Regions from separate parts of the Homo sapiens genome. Here region 1 is linked to region 2. The links are contacts of gene promoters, found by promoter capture Hi-C in human tissues and cell types (Jung and others, 2019). All regions are on one chromosome and are shown on one strand. Each heading gives the region's core, a stretch centred on a gene start or on the middle of the fragment in contact. The rest is flanking DNA. Distances are from core to core; before and after follow the strand shown. Region 1 holds the start of SNAPC4 (small nuclear RNA activating complex polypeptide 4). Region 2 holds the start of LOC105376325 (a long non-coding RNA gene).

Region 1 (4,935 bases), core at 4-2,503, 250 kb after region 2:
GAGCCCTGTAGCAGCAGGATGGGGGCATCTGGGGAGGATGCCTCAGGCCACAGGCCTTCCCTGAGGCCCTTTGGGAGAGACAGCATTTGATGGGGTGGGGGTCACAAAGGCCAGATCGCCAGGCGGGTCCCATCCACCAGATGCGTGTGAAGTGGGGTGGTCCCCTGGCCCTCATGCCAGCAGCTCATGGAGCAGGTGGGGCCCAGGGAAGCGCGGTGGGGATGGGCATGTGGGTTTTGCGCACCCCTCTCTTTTGATGTCTGTGTTTGAAGCGTTTGATAGTAAGAAGTTTAAAAATACAATTTGTGGCGCGGTATTTAGTGCCTGCCTTCTGCCTCCAGATTTCAAGCCCGATGCAGGGACTGAAACGAGGCGCTCGAGGAGCCCCCAGCCGCCTGGTTCCATCCCCTCCATCTGTTTCTTGCCAATCCCTAGCTCCCAGTTTGGCCTCACCTGGGCCTAGCCCTTTGCCACCAAAAGCCCACCTCCTAGGTAGGCAGGGCAAACCCTCTTTATAGTTCTCCAGCTGATGCCCCTAGCTCACCCCAGGCTGGAGTGGAGGCCCCCTCAACTGGCTGGGCCCAGGATGTCTTTGCAGCACCGATACTTAGAAGCTCTCAGGAGCCAGGAACTGTAGGCCCCTGCCCAGCTCCCGGCCGAGTTAGCCCTGGCACGTTCCTGAAGGAATGAATGCCCACTTAGGGGAGGGCCCCGGGGCAGCTCTCCAGGCCAGGAGACCCCAGAGGGTGTGCACAGGTGACCAGGGAAGCGAGTTTGTGTGGTGCGGGCCCCCACCCTCTGGCCTCAGTCTCCTGCACGTGCCTGGAGATCGGCCTGGCCTCGGCGATCCTGAGCATGCAGGGCAGGCTGGGGAAAAAGCCTTTCACGTAGACTTTCTCATCCGTTGCTTAACCAAACCCCAACATGTCCGTTAACAGAGGATGAAACAAGCACAGAGAGGTCCAGCGATGGCCGAAGGTCACAGCCAGTAAGGGCCGGTCTTCCGGATCGTGACCAGGTGGCCGGGTGCCTGTCCCTGTCTGTCCCCTGCCTTGAGGTCCCGCGTCCACCCGCGCCCCTCCAGAGCGCGCGGAGGCGGCCCCCAGGGCGGCCGCGCGAGGGCAGCATCGAGCCGTTCGCCTCTCTAGTCCCGGCAGGCCGCAGCGGCCGTCCCGGCGTGCCCCGCGCCTCAGGAGGCGGGACTTCCGGCGCGCGGCGCTCTTGTTCTGCAGCCGCCGGAAGCGTCGAGTCTGCAGTCGCCCGGGCGACGGCGGGGTCCGCGCGGCCAGGTAAGGTGTGCGCCCAGCAGGTGAGGCGCGGGTGGCGTCGGCAGCTTCAGGGCTCTCCCCGTGGAGGGGGCGCTGTCCCGAGGAGCGGATAGCCGAGGCCCGGGACGGGGGCGGGGCAGCGCCCAAAGTCGGGGAAACTGAGGCCCGGCGTGGCCCCCGTCCGGCCGAGCCTGGGCGCGCGGGGATTCTGGCCCTGGGAGCCCCTCGGCTGGGAGCGGGCTGCGGGCTCCGAGGAGGCTCCGGCGGGGCGGCCCCGGCTGCAGGGCGCCCGCGTGCGTCTCGGGGACTGCGCCGGCGATTCCGCGGTGGCCGAGCCTCGGAGGGGGTTTCCCCAGTTCACGCAGCGAGCAGGAGGCGGAACTGGGCCTGGGCCGGGTCTGTCTCCCAAGCCAGTGCCTAAACGCCCATCGTCCTGGCGCATCCTGGGGTTCCCTGGGCCCAGCCGAGTCTGGGTGGCGTCCCCGCAGCTGGGGCTGGAGGGACCGCCTGCTGCGCTCCGTCTTGGTGGGCAGCCCTCATGACCAGCCCTTGGGAGAGGGGTGCGGGGAGAGGGACAGCCCCTGATGTCAGTGGCTCAGCACGTGTGACTTTGACCTCCTTCCTGCTGATCATTGCTCACCTGAGCGACACGGGGAGGGGGAGGCAGCAGCCTCGTGTGAGGCTTCCAGAGGAAAGCGTCTCCGCCGGCCCGGAGGCGCTGAACCAGCCTGCGGTCGCTGCCAGCTCTGCCTCTGGCCGGCTGTTAACTGAGTTTACAGGTTCACAAGCATTTCGGGCATAAACAAGGGGCTTTGTGAAGGAGTGAGGGGACCTGGGCTGCTGATGCGGCTAACGGTGCTCGCGGGTGGATGCTTTGGTTTTGTTCCAGTTGGGCAGGGCCCCAGTCAGCCTCCAGCAGGGAGAGCCACGCCAAGGACGGGGGAGGGCGTTTCTCTTTGTTGTTGGGTGTTTTGGGCTCCCGGGTCTGTGCTAGTGATTCCTTTAGATTTTCTCTGCTAATGTTTCATTCTCCCACTCTCTCTCTAGCGTCCTTCTCCCTTCAGACTTCCTGGACCACAGTTCCTAAGAAAAAAGCTTGACAAACATTTGTTAGTGTCAGGCACTGCCACGTTCCAGGCGTTGTTCTGGATGTACAGAGAACAGCCAGCCTTCCCTTTGGGAGCTTCCTTCCCAACCATGCTGTTAGTGCCTGCCACCTGGGCAGTCTCAGTGTGTGTCTCTGTGAACGTTTCTCAAATGCCCTCTGTGGTCCGGCTCTGTGTCATGGGAGAGCAGGATGGCCAAAGTGGGTCACGGGCTGTGTCCTTGCCCTGTAGTGACTTTGCCACTGCACCCCACACCTTCTACGCTGGGTGGCCAGTTTCCATGTGGCTTGGTGTGGGAGCAGAGACGGGACAGTGGGGCCTGTCCTTGTTCATCCACTCCCTGCCTGTGCTGGTTGCAGCCTCAGAGCAGGCGGGAGATGTTCTTGGGGCTTAGGCTCCTGGCAGAGCACATAGCAGGAGTTTGTGGGGTCTGAGGTTCCTGTCCCAGGGTTCCCCGATTCTGTGCCTGGCCTATTAATCTTTCTCTGGGGAGCCCAGTGCCCACTGCCGAGCAGGCTCCTGCCATCCCCCATGGGCGGGTGTGTCTGAAGGAGAATGGGATCCCGGCACGGTCTTGGTTTCTAACATCTCGGGGTGTGTTTTGGAGGCAGGCGGGAGTCATGGATGTAGATGCTGAAAGAGAGAAGATAACACAGGAGATCAAGGAGCTGGAAAGGATTTTGGATCCCGGCTCCTCGGGCTCCCACGTGGAGATCTCAGAATCAAGTCTCGAGTCAGATTCTGAAGCAGGTAAGCCCCTTGTACCTAGCCTCCTGGGGTCCTGGTAAGAACAGCTGGTCTGCCTCCTGGGTTCCTCTCAGGCACATTAGGGAGTGATGGTAGCCGGGTGTGGTTTCTCAGGCCTGTAAACCCAGGGACTCCTGAGGCTGAGGTGAGAGCATTGTTTGATCCCAGGAGTTCATGTCCAGCCTGGACAACGCAGCAAGACCCTGTCTCTAAAAATAATAATAATAATAATAAACGATGGCTGGTGCTGCTTGGACCAGACCCAATTTTTTGCCAACACTGGTGTCTTTCTGTACTCCAGCCAGAGAGCTTCTGACAATTCCTCCTTTGCTAGCCCCTGAACCAGCTGGCTGTGTGTGTACACTGGGCTCTAGGCATCCCAGGGTCTGGGCCTGGCCTCCTTGGGCCTGTGCAGGGCTTCTGGAGTGGACCATCCTGGGAGGAGGGGGCAGGCCTGAACCTCACCAGATGGCAGTCTGGACAGTCCATGCCTGGATGGTCAACACAGCTCACACCCCTAGGATCTCTTCTTCTCACATGTGCCCCTCCCCACGTGCTCCCCACCCCAAGTGCTCTCCTCCCCACGTGCTCCCCACCCCACGTGCTCCCCACCCCACGTGCTCCCCTCCCCACGTGCTCCCCTCCCCACGTGCTCCCCTCCCCACGTGCTCCCCACCCCACGTGCTCCCCTCCCCATGTGCTCCCCACCCCATAGGCTCCCCACCCCACAGCCTCTCCTCCCAACATGCTCCCCTCCCCACATGCTCTCCTCCATGCTCCCTTTAGCTTCTGAGCCTACCCCAACCCCACCAGCTGCTGCCCTGACAGGAGACCCCCCCAGCCTTGCTTCCCACCTCTCCCAGACCCAGGGCCTGCCTCTGAGGCAACCTGCTATCTTTCTCCTGTGGTGAGGGCCTCTACATCCGTGCCTCCCATCTGACCGGCTAAGCTCCTGAAGGAGAGGTCCGTTTTCTGCTAAACTTTCCCTGTCTCTCCAGTAAAGATAGCTTGTGCCATCCAGTGAACCCTGTGTAGCTTTGTCCTGTGTGCCTGGAGGTCCCCAGTGTGTGGTCAGAGTTTTCTCTATCTGGCTAACCCGGCCTTGGTCCAGTGCCCACCCCGCTGTCAGGGAGGGAAGGTCCGCTCACCGCCAGCCTCAGCCTGAGGCGCTGTCACTACCTCACAACCCCAGGTCTGCCCAAGAAGCAGTGGTGAGCTGCGCCCCCACCCTGCCCAAGACGCTGGTTACCAACACGGTGTTGCTTGTGTTTCTGACAGATTCACTGCCTTCTGAGGACTTGGATCCTGCCGATCCCCCGATCTCGGTAACTGTTGGCCTGATCTGGCTGTGCCACTGGGTCAGGCCTGCCACCACCTTCCAAAGTAGCCTGGGAGGGGGCGTGGTTTGAACCCATATTGGTTTTTCTGCATTATAAAAATGATTCACGTTTGTTATAAAAAAATTAAAAAGCATTTGTCATTGAAATTGTCCCCAGAAATAACCACTGTTAACAGCTTGGTGATCACACCCCTTGGGTTTTTTCTGAGCTCATTGCTGTATGCCTCTGTCTCCTGTGTGGCATCTGTCACTTGCGGAAAGCTGTGAGTTGTGCACCTGCGTCCTGCCCCTCACAGCTCGCCTCTCTGTGCCTCAGATTCCTGTGGGGCAGCGGGGACGTTTACAGCACAAGTCAGTTAACACGAGCAGCTATACAGAAATTAGCTGGTGCAGTGGCACGTGGCTGTGGACGCAGCTACTTGGGTGGCTGAGGCAGGAGGATCACTTGAGCCCAGGAGGCCGAGGCTCCAGTGAG
Region 2 (4,921 bases), core at 1,315-3,814:
CTGCAACCTCTGCTTCCCAGGTTCAAGTGATTCTCCTGCCTCAGCCTCCCGAGTAGCTGGAATTACAGGTGCCCAACACCACGCCCGACTAATTTTTGTATTTTTAGTAGAGACAGGGTTTCACCATATTGGCCAGGCTGGTCTCAAACTCCTGACCTGGTGATCCACCCGCCTCAGCCTCCCAAAGTGCTGGGATTACAGGCATGAGCCACCGAGCCCGGACTGAATTGTACATTTTAAATGGGTGAATTGTATGGTATATAAATGATTTCTTAATAAAGCTGTTATTTTTATTTTATTTTCAAGGTGGAGTCTCACTCTGTCTCCCAGGCTGGAATGCAGTGGCACGATCTCAGCTCACTGCAACCTCTGCCTCCTGGGCTCAAGCAATTCTCCTGCCTCAGTCTCCCTAGTAGCTGGGATTACAGGCGCCCGCCACCACACCCAGCTAATTTTTGTATTTGTAGTAGAGACAGCATTTCACCATGTTGGCCAGGCTGGTCTCAAACTCCTGACCTCAGGTGATCTGCCCGCCTCGGCCTCCCACAGTGCTGGGATGACAGGCATGAGCCACCGTGGCCAGCCATAAAGGTGTTATTCAAGAAAAAGAAGAAATGCCTCAGACCTGAACGCTTCCCACCATCTTGGCTGAGCGTTTGACCACATCGGTGGATGCCCCACTGGGTTGCATTCTAGTCCGTGCCGATGGCCTCTGCGGGGGCTCCTTCCAATCCCTTGAGACGTGGGCCATGTTGTAGGGGATGCTGGCAGTTAGTGGGAAGTGTGAGCACTGAGGGGCCCCCAGTCCTGGAGAGGAAGCCTTCTGGGCTGCGGGTCTCTCTCCTGCCAGGCATCCCGGGCACCATGCAGCCCCTGCCACCCTGGGCTCAGCCTGCCCCGTGCCCTCTGCAGTCCTTCCTCAGCCAAGGGCAGCTCCTGGAGTTTAGGGGATGGGAGTGGACTCCTTCTGGGGTGGGTGGAACCTCTCCTCCACCCAGCTCAGCAGACCGGTTGTGAGGTTGCCGCGTAGGCACCATGGGCAGTCGGGGGTAAGGATGGATACCTCTCGGTAGCTGATGCGGGGCTCACGCTGGGCTGGCACTTTAAGACAGATGCCGGAGGAGCAGCCAGGGGTGTTTGTGGGGCACATGGGCCGGGCCAGGCCAGCGCCTCTCTGGGACCTCAAGCAGGAGAGTGGTCGGTCCAGCCCGGGAGGGAGCCTGTGGCTAGGCCTGTGCAGGAGTCGGGGGGGACTCTCGGTGGGGACCCTCCCGGCAGCCGAAACTGGGGGAGGGAGAGCAGAACATCTGGCCCTGCTGGGTTGGGGCTGATGCTTCTGTTTAGCCGTAGCAGCCTCCCTGGGGTTGATTTCCTAGAGCTCCTACACCCCCAGTTTGTCCGGGGCCCCAGCCGTAGCTGCTACTGGGGGCCTCAAACTCCCCCAGGGCAGCCAGGACCCCAGGGGCTGTGGAGCCAGGGGCAGAGTGGAGGTGGGGGTCGGGGGAGGGCTGCAGCCGGGCCCATAGTCCCCACCCTGCAGGCCGGAGCAGGAAGGGCTGGCGGGAGCCAGGGACAAAAGGCGGACGTGCAGCCGGCCATGTGTGTCCTTATCACAGGCTGCACTCCCAGCACAGCAGCCTGCGCGGAAACGCTCCTCTCCGCCGCCTTCCTGCCTGGAAGCCCGGAGGCGGAGGCGGAGGCGCTGGAGGCCCCCACCCAGCGGGACGGGAGGCTGAGGGGAGCAAGGGGAGCGAGCGGAGCCAGGTGGGGGCAGATGTGCAGGATGGGTCAGGGGCAGCGGGGTGGGAGGCCCAGCCTCCGGGGTCTGGAGGGTTAGCTGAGTACTTCACGCTGCACTGATCTGTGGGGCCGCCGTGATGTGGGTGCTAACGCTCTCCCCACCTGTTGGATGGGGAAACTGAGGCCCAGGGCAACAGTGACCTCTCGAGGTCAGGCCCCAGCTAGGTGAGGCACAAACTCAGTCCAGAGGCGGCCCCGGGGGCTCTGCCGTCCACCCAGGCTCTGGCTGACAAGGGGCCCTCCTGCTGTGCTGGCTCCCGAAGGGGATGGCCCGGACTGGGCCCAGCTGCCCTCTGGTGGATATGGGGCCACCCCAGTCAGGGTGGGGCTGACAGGGTCCATGCTCCCTCCCGCCCTCGGACGTGCAGACTTGAAGAACGCTGGCGGGCGGGCTTGGGGGCCTAGCACCGGCCAGGTCACCAGTGCTACCTTCCTCTGAGTGAATCTGCCGGAGGACTGAGCTGGGGTCCGGGAACGGCTTCCCAGCAGGCCCTGCAGCCTATTCTGCCCCAGGCGTAAGTCATGCTCCCTCCCTGGGAGGACATGGCTGCTGGTGGGGTGCTGGGGCCACATCCAGTCCTCTTGGCTTCTTGAGGTTGGGGTGATGACTGCCCCCAGCACGTGAAACCCATGGGTAGGCGGTGGGGACTGTGTTCCTGCCCTGATGACACCTGCTGTGGGAAGGCACCAGAGCCCCTGCAGGCCCCCACTTCTGCAGAAGCACGGGGGGTGGGGGGTGGGGGGCGTGGGAGAGGCCCACAGAGGCTTGTGCCCCTCTAACCTGTTCCGTGGTGACAGGGCTCTCGCTTGCCTCCCGGGGAGGCATCCTGAGCCCAGTGGCTAGATTCAGGTCGTGGCCCTGCTGTGAGAGGGACCTTTGCGTCCCTGACTGACAGTGGGTGAGCCAGGCCGTGAGAGTCTTTTTCTGTTGGCCGTGGCTGGAGCCTGTGACCTGCAGGCCAGAGAGCGCAGGGCCACCTGCAGTCGCCGACCGGGCCCATTGTCATCTGTGGATCTGGCTGTGCCTCAGTTTCCCACCCATCAACTGGGGCTGGGGCTGTAGCTGAGTGGCGCTTCCTTGGGGGGTGGGAGAGGAGAGGCTGCCATATCCAGAGCACGTCCGCCCTAGGCCCTGGCCCGGCCCGGGGCCCTGCCTCCGCTAATTTGAGAGGATAGAGGAAGTCCCCTGTGGCCTCTCCCCTTCTCAGCTGACCTCACCCATCTGGGGCTGCACAGGAAATGCCCGGGTGTGCTGGGGCCTGACCCTTCTGCAGAGCCGGGGCCCCAGCGCCAGCCGCCCGCCATCTGCTGACCTCTGGCCAGGCTCAACGCCACACTCTCCAAGGCTGACTCAGAGCCCTGGGAAAGGGTCAGGGGCTCCCACCTCCGTGCTGAGCTCATCAGGGAGGGGCTCAGCACCTGGTCACCTCTGTGTCCTCACACCCCAGGCTCTGCCTGGCTGCTGCCTGCCTGGTGGTCAGTGCCTGTCACCCCCACTGTCCCCTCCAGGCCACAGGAAGAGTCTGAGCAGGGAGAACCCTGGTCTCACGGGCTCCCAGGGCCCTGGCACCGAGGGTGTGAGGAGCCTCTCCTGGGACAAAGGCCGAGGGGTTCCGGGGGTCCTTGGCCTCCGTGGCCGTTGGCATGGGGCCCCCCCAACGACCCGCAGCCGGCAGATGGGGCGGCGGCTGCAGTTCCCCCAATGCTCACAGCGCGGCGGTGTTTCCCCGCGGAAGCTGCCCCGGACCAGTGGCCTCTACCCTGCTGCTGCCAGCCTTGGGCGGGGCTCCCTGCACGTGGGACACGCACCCCTCCCACCCTGACAGCCTGTGCGTCCCGCCCTGCGTGGCTTCTCTCCAAAGGCTCTTAAGATTCGAGGAGAGGGGCGGAGAGAGGACCTGGCTTGGTTGGGAAGTGGGGCCTGGGACCCTGGGACCCTGTGCTCCGACCCCACCTGCAAGGCTGCGCCCTCCGCAGGGGGCCGTCCGGGGGGGCCCTGCCCGCGGGTCACTGCCAGGATCCTGCAAGCAGCCAGCGGGCACCGCTGTCACCACATTTCACACTCTGAGGAGCTCTGGGCACAGCCTCCAGGGAAAGCCTGGCTGCCGACTCTGGCCCCCTGACTCCTGAATCCTGCGAGTCACACGGCGGCACGGCCTGCATATCGGGGAGGATGGCAGGCTGGGCTGTCCTGAGGTGACCAGGGAATGCCAGACGCTTTGGGGTGAGGGTTTGCTTGCCGGCTTTGGGGCAGGCCAAGGGATTCTGCAGGGGCAGTAGGTCCCCGCGATCTTCTGGGGAGGGGCCGGCTGCCGAATCTCTGGGATTCAAATGTGGAAAACCCACAGGGGGCATTCCCGTGATGACTGAAAGAAGAAGTGGCAGCGTCACAGCTGAAGGGAGGCTGTCAGAGTGACCAGAGTGGCCAGTCCAGAGGAGACGGGTGGGGCAAAGTCTCCAGGAGGCCAGGAGATGCCTTCAAGAAAAGAAATGGAAAGGAGTGATGACCTGATGCGTGTGAGAACACGGGGACGAGCCTTGCGGCTCCGTGGGAGAGCTTGGGTGAGGACCACCCGTGCCGCGGCGACCTCTGATCGTCACCCAAGCTGTGCCCTCCCATTTCACGGTAAAAGGGGTTTCACCGGGCTCAAGGCTGTCCAGCTAAAGACCACGTCTCCCAGCCTCCTTGCAGACTCTAACTTAGCCTGTGACCAAGTTCTGGTCAATGGGACCAGAGCAGGAGTGGGAGGTGTCACTTCCGGATCTTCCCATTAAAAGAAAGGGTCATTCTCCAGGAGAACCCACCCGAGGTGTCCTGGCCGTAGCCACCTTCAAAATGCCCTCTGTGTGTATGGGAGATACTATACCCTAGAATCTCAGAACACGCCAGAACGCTGAAATGCCCTTCTACCTTTGGATTTACAGCCCCCTCCAGATAAATTAAGAAATTCAGTATTTCTCCACTCTTAGCTGGATTCTAAAGTTCTGTATATCTCATGATGATGTGTATTTTTATAGCAGCCTTTTAACAGAACTAGTTAATTTGGTGTATATGAATTTTTCTCGAAGATCTGGTCCAAACTATATTCAGTTTTCTGCCCAGAATTATCAGATTGAAGGT

Evidence for each region. Contacts are between HindIII fragments. The study calls those that stand out against the background at their distance.
Region 1: a contact is called between the fragment with the promoter of SNAPC4 here and a fragment that was not itself captured in region 2, in 1 of the 25 tissues and cell types used here (mesenchymal stem cells).

What each region holds. Positions count from the first base shown.
Region 1 is chr9:136,396,488-136,401,422 of GRCh38, reverse strand. SNAPC4 (small nuclear RNA activating complex polypeptide 4) reads left to right here and starts at 1,253. Exons shown (of 24, transcript NM_003086.4): 1 at 1,253-1,289; 2 at 2,986-3,124; 3 at 4,400-4,446. The coding sequence starts at 2,995. RefSeq lists silencers at 806-855, 1,006-1,215, 1,286-1,415, 1,486-1,595 and enhancers at 104-1,040, 2,770-3,969. The HindIII fragment of the contact is 18,374 bases long and covers 1-4,935 here.
Region 2 is chr9:136,643,249-136,648,169 of GRCh38, reverse strand. It overlaps LOC105376325 (a long non-coding RNA gene), which reads left to right and starts at 3,694. Exons shown (of 3, transcript XR_930446.4): 1 at 3,694-4,024; 2 at 4,149-4,426. It overlaps LOC102724193 (a long non-coding RNA gene), which reads right to left and starts at 1,486. Exons shown (of 4, transcript XR_930443.3): 1 at 626-1,486. RefSeq lists silencers at 1,321-1,510, 2,121-2,170, 3,331-3,460, 3,731-3,780, enhancers at 1,113-1,809, 1,810-2,507 and a cis regulatory region at 1,138-3,847. The HindIII fragment of the contact is 7,707 bases long and covers 1-4,921 here.